2 separate regions of the Homo sapiens genome follow, and region 1 is linked to region 2. Evidence: promoter capture Hi-C in 16 types of primary human blood cells and fetal thymus (Javierre and others, 2016). All regions are on one chromosome and are shown on one strand. The core of a region is centred on a gene start or on the middle of the fragment in contact, and the rest is flanking DNA. Distances in the headings are between cores, read along the strand shown. Region 1 overlaps LOC124900702 (a long non-coding RNA gene). Region 2 holds the start of GSX2 (GS homeobox 2).

The links. The method cuts DNA at HindIII sites, captures the fragments that hold promoters and counts their contacts. A CHiCAGO score of 5 or more calls a contact.
Region 1: a fragment that was not itself captured here is called in contact with the fragment with the promoter of GSX2 in region 2 in 1 of 17 cell types (neutrophils); the score reaches 5.1 in neutrophils.

What each region holds. Positions count from the first base shown.
Region 1 is chr4:53,902,595-53,908,402 of GRCh38, forward strand. The region is part of intron 1 of LOC124900702 (a long non-coding RNA gene); the gene reads left to right. Among named protein-coding and RNA genes, the nearest start is that of CHIC2, 160 kb to the right of the region's middle. The HindIII fragment of the contact is 1,398 bases long and covers 969-2,366 here.
Region 2 is chr4:54,098,015-54,102,991 of GRCh38, forward strand. It overlaps GSX2 (GS homeobox 2), which reads left to right and starts at 2,149. Exons shown (of 2, transcript NM_133267.3): 1 at 2,149-2,904; 2 at 3,568-4,484. The coding sequence starts at 2,331. The coding sequence ends at 3,908. RefSeq lists enhancers at 1,993-2,783, 2,784-3,575, 3,576-4,365. The HindIII fragment of the contact is 4,571 bases long and covers 1,520-4,977 here.

The DNA of each region.
Region 1 (5,808 bases), core at 418-2,917, 200 kb before region 2:
AGGCATGTTTTGTTAATTTATGCAGTCAATACAAACTAATTGATTGCAGATCTTCAATCCTTTGTAATTCCAAACTCCCAAAATGCTCTGAAAACCAAAAGATTTTCTGTAAGCTGGCAGCAAGCTCATTGAACTCACCGGAACGGATGCATGGCAGTCCCCAGTCTTTATGATCTGCCTTAATTGTGACTACAGTCTTCTCCCCTCATCCATAGTTTCTTTTTCCGAGGCTTCTGTTACCAATGGTCAACAACAGTCCAAAAATATTAAATGGAAAAATCCAGAACTAAAAAATTTATGTTTTTAATTGCTTGCCATTCTGAGAGAAGTGTGATGAAATCTCACGCTGTCCCAGTCTGTTCCACCTGGGAAATGAATCATCCTTTTGTTTAGTATATCCATGTTGTATGTGCTGCCTTCCCCATACAGTGTGGTTATATAAGAAAAAACACAATGAGGCCAGGTGTAGTGGGTCACACCTGTAATCCAGCACTTTGGGAGGCCAAGGCAGGAAGACTGCTTAAGTCCAGAAATTCAAGACCAGCCTAGGCAACATATGAAGATCCTGTCTCTACAAAAAATTAACAAAATTAGCCTGATGTGGCAGTACACACCTGTAGTCTCAGCTACTCAGAAGGCTGAAGTAGGAGGATCGCTTGAGTCCGGGAGGTTGAGGCTACAATGAGTTGCGATAGTGCCACTGTACTCCAACCTGGGTAACAGAGCGAGACTCTATCTTAAACAGAAGGAGGGAAGGAAGGAAGAAAGGAAGGAGGGAGGGAAGGAGGGGGGGGAAGGGAGGGGAGGGGAGAGAGAGAGAAAGAGAGAAAGAAAGAAAAAAGAAAAGAAAGAAAGGAAAGAGAAAGAAAGAAAGAAAGAAAGAAAGAAAGAAAGAAAAAAGAAAAGAAAGAAAGAAAGGAAAGAAAGAGGGAGAAAGAAAGAGTTTACATAGGGTTTGGTCTTGCCCAAGCTTGCAGGCATCCACTGGTGGTCTTGGACTGGATCCCCCATGGATAAGAGGGCACTACTGTATTGATACATTTTGCATGTTTCACAGCAGAAAAGCAAATGTGTTTGATTATGGGATGCAGCCCCAAACTCTGTGGGGGTGTTATATAACTTAGTGATACTCACCATTTGAGATTCCTAAATTCTGAATTGTCAAAACACTTGGCCCCGATGGGCTTCAGATAAGGTGTTTGGGATGTGTATCTGTTTGTATCAGGCATTGAGGTGCTGAGAATACTGTAGTTGAATAAAACCATCAAGGCCTTTACTGTCTTGGAATTGACTTTTCAGCTAACAAGACAATAACAAGGAAGCAAATACGATAATTTCTGAAAGAGATAAGTGTTCTGAAGAAATGAAATCAGGAGAATGGAATAGAGATATGATGGATATTAGAGAAATCCTTGCTAAGAAGACATAAATAAAGAAAACGTAACAACCTGGTGAAGAGATTATTTCAAGGCACTTTCACTCATTCATTCATGCCCATTCCATTCCTACCTCAGGACCTTTATACCTGCTGTCTCTTTTACCTGGAAGAAGCAAATTATGTAACCTTCTCGAAACTCATTTTGCTTAAGATTGCTCATGTCTGTAAAGTGTCAGGGCTGGAACAAAAATCAAAGCTCTATGACACAAAGTTAGATTTGTGGGGTCATGAGGGAAACACCCACCTTAAGAGCAGGTTTGGAGGATTAGATAGAAGTTCTCTATGAACTTGACCACAATAGCTGATATCACAGCACAGTTTCTCCTCTCTCAGTAATAAAGACTCAGATCAAGGCAGCATCTCTCTGAGCAAGGAATGAGGATCCTTCTATAGAAAAGCTGGGACCTGGCTAGTGTGTCTACTGAACTGCTCTTTCAAAGTTCTGCACTCCCTCCACACGGGGCTTGAGTTTCCATAGACAAAAAAACATAACATGGTCACCAAAGAGAACCTTCAGCATTGTTTCTCCAGCAACTGAGACTCCAGTGAAAAGTACACCTTCCTGGGAACCAGCACCCAACCTATCCTGGACCAGGTCTCCCAGCCAATGGTGCTGCTCGTGAGTGTCCAGTCCTCAATTGTTTTGTTATTATTGTTGCTATTGTTGTTGGGTTTCCCTTGGTCTTCTTATTTAAGAGAAGGTAGAGGCTGCTCTAGGGGCAATGCTTATGCCTGGAACGAATGAGCCTTTATTGTGGACAAGCTCTGTGAGTGAAGGCCCTCCTTGAGTCTGGTGATAAAAATAGGCTATGGCCAGGCAGGATACAGAAGAGCATGACCAATCACCAAATAAAGGTTTATTGGCTTATACATTTTATTGTACCGTGACATCCCTCCTTTCAGCTTTAGATGTCAGCAGCTGGTGGCAAGCTTAATGACTGATGCATAGGGGAACAGCCATGGACACCACAGTTTGGCTCCCCCTAAAACAGTGATGCTTCATCCTTACTTGGCCAGCTTCTGGAATCCTAGTGAACACACTACAGAACATCAGGTTTGCCTGGGCAGTAACATCCAAGGGGAGCTTCCAGGTTCCTCTTGGCTGAGCAAGACTATTTTTTTCCTTATTTCAAAGAGCTGTTGTTCTGACTAAAGGAAGAGAGGATGTATATGGTAATGAGAACTGTATACATTTCTCCTAAAGTCTCCTACTTTATCTTCTTTAATTCTGCATCTGACTCTGCCTGGGTAGAAATCGTATTCAAAATTATCCCAGCCTCTTCAATCTCCTTAATAAGATCTCTCAAAATGGAACACACTGTCTCGTGTGCCTATAAGGGATGTGCAATGCCTCTTTTGTGCTTTTGTTCACTCTTATCTGATGTTCTAACACATTTTCACTTTGAGGAGTTTGGAAATGTATCTGCATAGTCATTGCCGTTTAAGTACTCCACTGATTACAAAATGCTTTCATACACATTGTCTTGAGGAAATGCTCTGAAAAATAAACTGCTAACACTCTGGTAAAGAGCCTTCTGCAGTTAGCAAAATAGTCACCAGGACCTTCTTTTTAAATGACTACACTTTCCACACTTTTTCTATCTTTGTTGACTTAAGTTCAAAGTCAAACTAGAAAATCTGTTTTGTCAGATGGAAGTTCGCTACTCACCGTTCTGAGAGGCTCCATGCACAGCTCATTGTGTTACCCCACTGCACAGAATCTACTCTTCTAGAGAGACACTGGCAGCTTTGTGCTTTGCATTTATTTATTCAATGCTGCAGTGGCTTAAGCCAGTTTATGGAAAATATCTCTAAACACTGAGACCTCAGGGCTAGGAGGAATTCCTAGACGAGCTCTAAATCAGTAGTTATGTTTGGCAGATTCTATATTCCCACGGAAAGGCCAACTAAACAGTCATTACGCTTTATAGGCGTGCCTGTGTGTCCTTCGTTATTTTGGAAGTATCAAGCAGGGCCTAGAAGCATGGTATAGTTAGTGCCAGCACATAGTGGTGGCCTGCAGTCCAACCATGCTGATTGATTTGATGTTTAGGGAGGCAGTTTCAGAGGAAATACGGTAACTCGCTTGTCTATCACCGTGCTTCCTGGATGAGCCCCAGAAATGCAGCGTTTGGGATACCATTAGCAAGCGTGTGGCAGCCTTGCCCTGCTGAGACTGCTGGTGATTGAAAAGTGCTCAAACTGTGGTCAGAGAAGAAGTGTGCAGATGAAAAGAAGGGAGATAAGTCTTCGATCACGACGCCTGCCCTTCTTCACCTAAATATCCCCCAGGACAGTTTGCCAAACACCAGCCTGTTGCTCAAATGAGAGAAAATAAGCCTTTAGTTTCTGTTTCCACTCTGCTTCATAAATTAACACCATCAACTGACTTTTCCCCGGCCTTTCTCCCACAGCTTATCTTTACTGCCAATAATCCTACCCATGAGAAAGATCTTTGACAAGTCAAGTACTACATAAATTCAAGAAATTCATATGTGGTATTTCATGCACATTTCAAATAAAGAAACTTACAAGGATACCGTTTAAAAAAAAAAAAGAACATCCCCATAGTTTTGAAGCAAATGTGCATTTTCTCGTTAGTAAAGAGACGTTTCCTTCCCTCTAACTTCCCAGTGTTGGACAAAGGACTAAAATTTCATGTTATAAGGAAAGCATGTAAACTCCGCACTGCTTTTCTCTGAAATAGCAGTCATTTCAATGATGTGCTCTATCATCAATCCCCGGAGACTGTAGGCTTTTCTGTAACTGGTTCCTTTTCGTTTTCCTCATTGGATAATAATTTTTCAGAATAAAATCTTTTGGTATCAGTATTTTCAAAATATTTCAAGACACCAGCCATTCTTAATCAGGCCACTGTGGAGCTCTATGCAATTAAGTTGCTAAAGTTAGGACAGAGCCCTTAGTTTCAGATTTCAGCTCCATATATCTGAATGGAAGCTCTTGAATGGATGAGCATTCTGACTACTGCCTGGCTAATAATTTTCCACTTGCATTTGGCCGATCCTACACACATGAGCATAAGCCAGTGTAAATGCTCCATCAGAGGCTCTTAGCAGGAAGAAAACAACTAAACAGATTCATTTCTTGACTTTCTTCTTTGATAGATATTTTCTTACTCTTAAATATACTTTACTCCTGATAATTTAGAGATCTATCGTTGGTGAGAGGATATCATGAATTATGAGTCCTTGCATTCTTTTTATAAAGGTAATATCCCCGGTTTGATGAGACAGAAATTTGCAATAGCATCTTTGCAGGGCTTTTCAAAGAGTAGTGGGAATGGAAAAGTTCCCTGGGACCCATTTCCTGACTGTTCCATTCGTGCTGATCACGACTTTAACCATGTTTTTCAAGCTGCCAATCAAAGCACACGTTCTATAAAATACAATTCCCTGGTAGGCACAGTGGAGCTAAATATTTGTCCCTAGAACTGTCCTGGGAGAGAAAGGACATAAAGTTGCTGCCACTAGGTTAAAATTTAAGAACAAAATTATAGGAAGCAGACTCCAAACTATTTTCTTAAATTAATTCTTCCTTTTCCAACCAGAACACAATCTCCCCTATTGTCATGTACGCCCTGATGCCTAGTTGGGTACACAGCAAATGTACACACATATCTGATGATTTACTGATGGACTGAATCCTCACAAATATTACATTTAAAGCTTTCAGATCAAATTAAATAATTTGCATTTGGGCAAACAGCCAACAGCACTCTAAACTGTACTCCTAACTAACGTTATTCCCTCCTCTACCTCTTCATCCCTGGTGTTCTCTGCAGACCTTCCAAATACAAACTCACTTTCACAAGAAAAAAAATAACTGCAAAGTATGATTCAGGTCAGCCAAGAAAGGAGGTCATATTAATTTTATTTTTCTTGCTCTGTTTCCCAGGCTGGCATGCAGTGGCATGATCTCGGCTCACCGCAACCTCTGCCTCCCAGGTGCAACTGATTATCCTGCCTCAGCCTCCTGAGTAGCTGGATTACAGGTACCTGCCACTACGACTGGCTAATTTTTGTAGTTTTAGTAAAGATGGGGTTTCACCATGTTGGCCAGGCTGGTCTCAAACTCCTGACCATAGATGATCCACCGCCTTGTCCTCCCAAAGTGCTGGGATTACAGGCATGAGCCACTGCACCCAGCCCATATTAATTTTTAATTTCTGTTTATGCCTATGAAAAATGTATAAGTTGTTCTACAAACAGAAATGCACTTCTCTTGCTAGGGTTGCCTCAATAAATTTAAGCAACGTGGCACTATATTTCCTTTATAAAGCTCCTTCCTACATATCTCACACAACACACAAGAAAGTCATAACCAAATTATTTAAGAAGAATTTCTCAAAA
Region 2 (4,977 bases), core at 899-3,398:
AGGTAAAATGGTCTGCACATGGGTGCGATTTCTAGGACTTTAGCATAGGAGCTCTTCCTCTGAACACATCCCAAACTGCTGGGAACATTGTGACTCAAACCATCAGCCCAAAACAGACTGTGGATAACCTGGGACCTAACCCAGAGGAGGAAAAGAGAGAAAGCTATTATTCTTAAAGAGTATCTGTATCTATATCTATATATGCTTGTATAGTTGCAAAGTGAATGGGGGGAATCGAGTCATCTATTTGGACAGTTTAGGACTGTAAAAAATATCCTGCCATTCAGCAGGGTATGTTTTTTATTGCCATTCTCCATCAGTGGCTCCAAGCCTTCTTCTTGGGGCTGAAATGATTTCGGGGATTGCCTAGATCCTCCAGTCATGAACAAGGGCGGGCTGGGGTGAGCCTGAGCGTCTGCAGACCTTGTGGTACAAAAGTAGTTACAGCTGAGCTGCCCCATGTTAAGCCCTGAGACTCCTTAATTGTTGTCACAAGATGTTGGATTAGCACATTTCTGGAATAGCTGTCTGTTTACACTCCAGAGACCCACCGTCCACTAACCGCTTTCTAATTGAATTCTAATCACATTCAAATAGCTCAATAACCAGCCTCAGCTGCAATTCATAAAACTTTAATTGCCATCCATAAATCCTGGGCTCCCCAGAGCCGGGCATCCCTACAACCCAATTACACTTCTCTAGCAGGCAAGAGAGACTGTCACAGAGATGGAGAGGGGAAGACAGAGGATGGAAAGATAGAGCCGTGCCTCTAGCTAGTGCTCTCCTGGATTTGGGCACCTTGTTCTCTCAGGTGGAGGGAGTCCTGTCTCTAAGTTTCTTAGCACCATCATGAACTCAGGATTGAAGTTAGCTGCTCTGGAAAAAGGATCAGACTTCTAACTATTGCCCAACCACATGGCCCCAGCCCGCTTTTCTGCAGGGGGAAATGAAGAGAGAAAATGGCCACCTCTGCTGCCTTGCCTTCTCCGAAGATAAATAGTCCCAATAGTTTGGCAGCCACCCTCTCTCGGGCAGTAAGGGGTGTGCAAGACTTCCATGGACCAGAGAGAGTTCCCTTACAAAGCCACTTCTGCCAATCAGAGGCAAGATTCCCTGGATGGCTGAATCCTCTTCATCCTTTTTAGGTTCTTAAGATGCAGAGGAAAGAGTGCTTCCTGGTTAGCCTTGCTAAGCTGCCCATGATTGGTAAAAATGAGGGACAGGAAATCCTCAGACCCAGAGCGAAGGTCTATCTAATCCCTGCTGCGTCTTTAGGAGGGCTTGGTGTTTGAGGTCCTCCCTCCAAAATCTTCAGGATGGAGTTTGTAGGATTGCCCTGGAATGCCATGGTGTTACTACTTGGAGAAAGAAAAGGGTGACTCTTCAACATCTCTCTCTCTCTGCGGAAGTGGGAGGTGCCGATCAGAAAGGGAAACAAGGAAGGGTCGTTGGTCTGAGTGGCCCCAGGAGGGCCCCAAGTACAAAGACACTTCAGACCTTGTCGAACATCAGCATGAAAAGCTTGACGGTTTCTTAGCTGGGAGGCCTCACAGTTCTGCGCCGGACAGTCCTGAACTAACCACCTGAATGACCTCTGCCAAGTCCAAAAGCTGTGGACAGGGGTAGGTGTAACCGTGGCCAGAGCTGCGCTCAGGGACTGGACGACTGCCAGTCCGTCGCCCGCACAATCCTGCTCCAAACCGCAGGCCTCACACTTCACCGCGCCGCAGCCACCCCTACCACAGAGGAGCTGGAAACACTGAGCATTCCTATTAAATAAGCCTCCAAGTCCCCACCTGGTACGCTTTGCGGTGGGGCGTGGGGAAGAGTTGGGCTGCGGCCAGGGTAGCGAGAGGGGGTGGGATGGAGGATGCAGCGCTGTGATTTCTCAGTAAAGCGTGGAGAAAGAGGGGGAGGAGGCCGGCCTCCCCGGGAAATTAACAAAACCTACACTTTGCAAAGTCTCCCCCATCCCCCTCCCCCGAGTTCTTCCCCGCCGCGCGCCCGCCCCTCCTCGCGGCTTCTGTTGTGACTCGGGCAGCCTATCCCGAGGGTGCGGAGCTGCCGAGGAGCCTGAGCCGAGCGGTACTCCGCAGCATCACGTGCCAGGGTGGGGGGCTATAAAATACCCGAGCCGGGGCGCCGGGCGGGGGACGTGAGGACCAGCCCTCTCCGGGGACCCCTTTGTTCCCAGCCCAGACGCCAACACCTCTGCGTCCCCAAGGGCTTGACTGCCCGTGTCTGCGCGGCTCCCAGGGCAGAGCTTAGAACACTAGAGGAGAGGGGTCGCCGCGAACTGCCGGGGCTTCCAGCCACCCACCCCTCTCGACATGTCGCGCTCCTTCTATGTCGACTCGCTCATCATCAAGGACACCTCACGGCCTGCGCCCTCGCTGCCTGAACCGCACCCCGGGCCGGATTTCTTCATCCCGCTTGGCATGCCGCCCCCATTGGTGATGTCCGTGTCCGGCCCCGGCTGCCCGTCCCGCAAGAGCGGCGCGTTCTGCGTGTGCCCTCTCTGCGTCACTTCGCACCTGCACTCCTCTCGGGGGTCTGTGGGCGCCGGCAGCGGGGGCGCAGGGGCCGGGGTTACCGGGGCCGGAGGCAGTGGGGTGGCAGGGGCCGCAGGGGCACTGCCTCTGCTTAAGGGCCAGTTCTCTTCGGCTCCTGGGGACGCGCAGTTTTGCCCGCGGGTGAACCATGCGCATCATCACCACCACCCGCCGCAGCACCACCATCACCATCATCAGCCCCAGCAGCCTGGCTCGGCCGCGGCGGCGGCAGCAGCAGCAGCGGCGGCGGCGGCCGCGGCGGCCTTGGGGCACCCGCAGCACCACGCACCTGTCTGCACCGCCACCACCTACAACGTGGCGGACCCGCGGAGATTCCACTGCCTCACCATGGGTAGGGCGGGGTCTTGGGGCACCTGCGCTCCGCGCCTTTCGCGCTCCTGGAGCAAACTTTCCACCTCCAGTGGAGGAAGTGGGAGCCCGGGGACAGGGTGAAGAGAGAGGACGGGCTTTTAGTGTAACCGTAGAGTCAGCCACAGAAGTTCCACGAAAGTGGAAGTTAGTTTGCCAGCTTCTCCACTCAGCCTGGTGCGTTTTACTCCTAGTAGTAGGTGCTCGAGTATTGCCTTATTAATACTGGGGCCTTAGGGACCTCGAACGTCACGGCGGATAAACCAGAGGTTAACTGCTTGGGATTTGGGGTGGGTGTGTTTGAACCTGTGTGGCATCCCCGCGTCGGGGCGGCTAAAGCGTCTTGACGTTTTTGGCTAAGCCTGCGCGCTTCTCCGCTTGGCTCAAAGGGAGGCGATCAGATAGTGCAAGCCCCCATCCCTCTTTAATCCTGTGACTTCGCATCCTGCGCATCGAAGACCTTTATTTGCTTTGCACGTCTCTTTTCTTCCCCGCTAAGCAACCACGTGCCTTGAAATGGGAAAGGGATACAGATGTTCGGCTGGGCTTCCCCGGGTGGGTCCCTGAAATGCGTCCTGGTTAGCACATGGGGTGGGAGCACCTTGCCCGAGCCTTACCTCTCTACCCTCTCTTCGCCGGTCCGCAGGAGGCTCTGACGCCAGCCAGGTACCCAATGGCAAGAGGATGAGGACGGCGTTCACTAGCACGCAACTCCTGGAGCTGGAGAGAGAATTCTCTTCCAACATGTACCTGTCTCGACTCCGGAGGATTGAAATCGCCACTTACCTGAACCTGTCGGAGAAGCAGGTGAAAATCTGGTTTCAGAACCGCCGAGTGAAGCACAAGAAGGAGGGGAAGGGCACGCAGAGGAACAGTCACGCGGGCTGCAAGTGCGTCGGGAGCCAGGTGCACTACGCGCGCTCCGAGGATGAGGACTCCCTGTCGCCGGCCTCAGCCAACGATGACAAGGAGATTTCCCCCTTATGAGGGAGGGCCTCCTCCCTCACATCCCCCGCTCCTGGCAGACCAGGCAACGCCAAGGCGTGGGGCACCCAGGGGCCAGAATCCTTGCTCATTGCAGTGGTCCCATCTGGAGAAGAAACGAACCTGGAAGTTCTGGAATGGACAAGCCGGGACCTGACCCTTCGCGTCTCCTTCTTGACCTGTTTATCTAGGACTCCAACTTGAAGTTACAGATTTTTTTAAAAAATGTAAATAACCTATAATTCAACTCATTCTTGTCGTATAACAGAGGAAAAACAGGGTTGGTTTAAGTTTAACACTGTATGGGGTTTTTGAAAGCACATGTCAGTTCCCCATCCCTACTCTCTTTCAGAACTCGATAAGAACACAGGATTTATTGATTATTTTCTGTTGTCGTTTTCAAACAAAAACACCCAAGTTGAAAATAATTTAGAAAATTAGACCTTGTAGGTCTTGCTTTCTGAAATTTCGCCTGGGGAGAATTTAAAATCTAAGTCGCTGGAAGTCCCTTTGTATGTGAATAGGTTTATATAAAATTTATATTTATATTTATTTAAATAAATGAAACAAAAACCAGAATTTTAAATCTGTGGTGTTTGCTCTCCCTATCTTCTCCTGCCCCCTCCTCCAATGTCTAGAGAAAGGCATATGCAGGAAAAAGCTGTCTGAGGAATTCGAGGAAAATGTTGAGTAAGAACTTGGTAATGTGGGTCTCTTGACTGAGGGAGTTTGTGGCTCAATGGGTTTTCTATGTAACAGAACTTTCGCCAAGGAGACACCTTTAGTCATGATGGCATCTACCAGGCAGTGCCTCTCCATCCTTAAAATAGGCAACCTCCTCACAGTTGATAGGACAAATCACTCCATTTGGAATGACACTGACCATTAACGACAGGTAAACCTTTATTTAGCAAGGAAGGGTAAAAATCCCCCATCTAGTTTTTGTTTTCTTCTTTCTACTTCCTCATTTCTCTCAGTACGAAAACTTGAATTATGTGAAGGAATTTGTAGAGTCAGAATAGTTTTAGGAAGAGCAACAATCCATCAAACAGGTCAGAAGCAAACAGTGGAA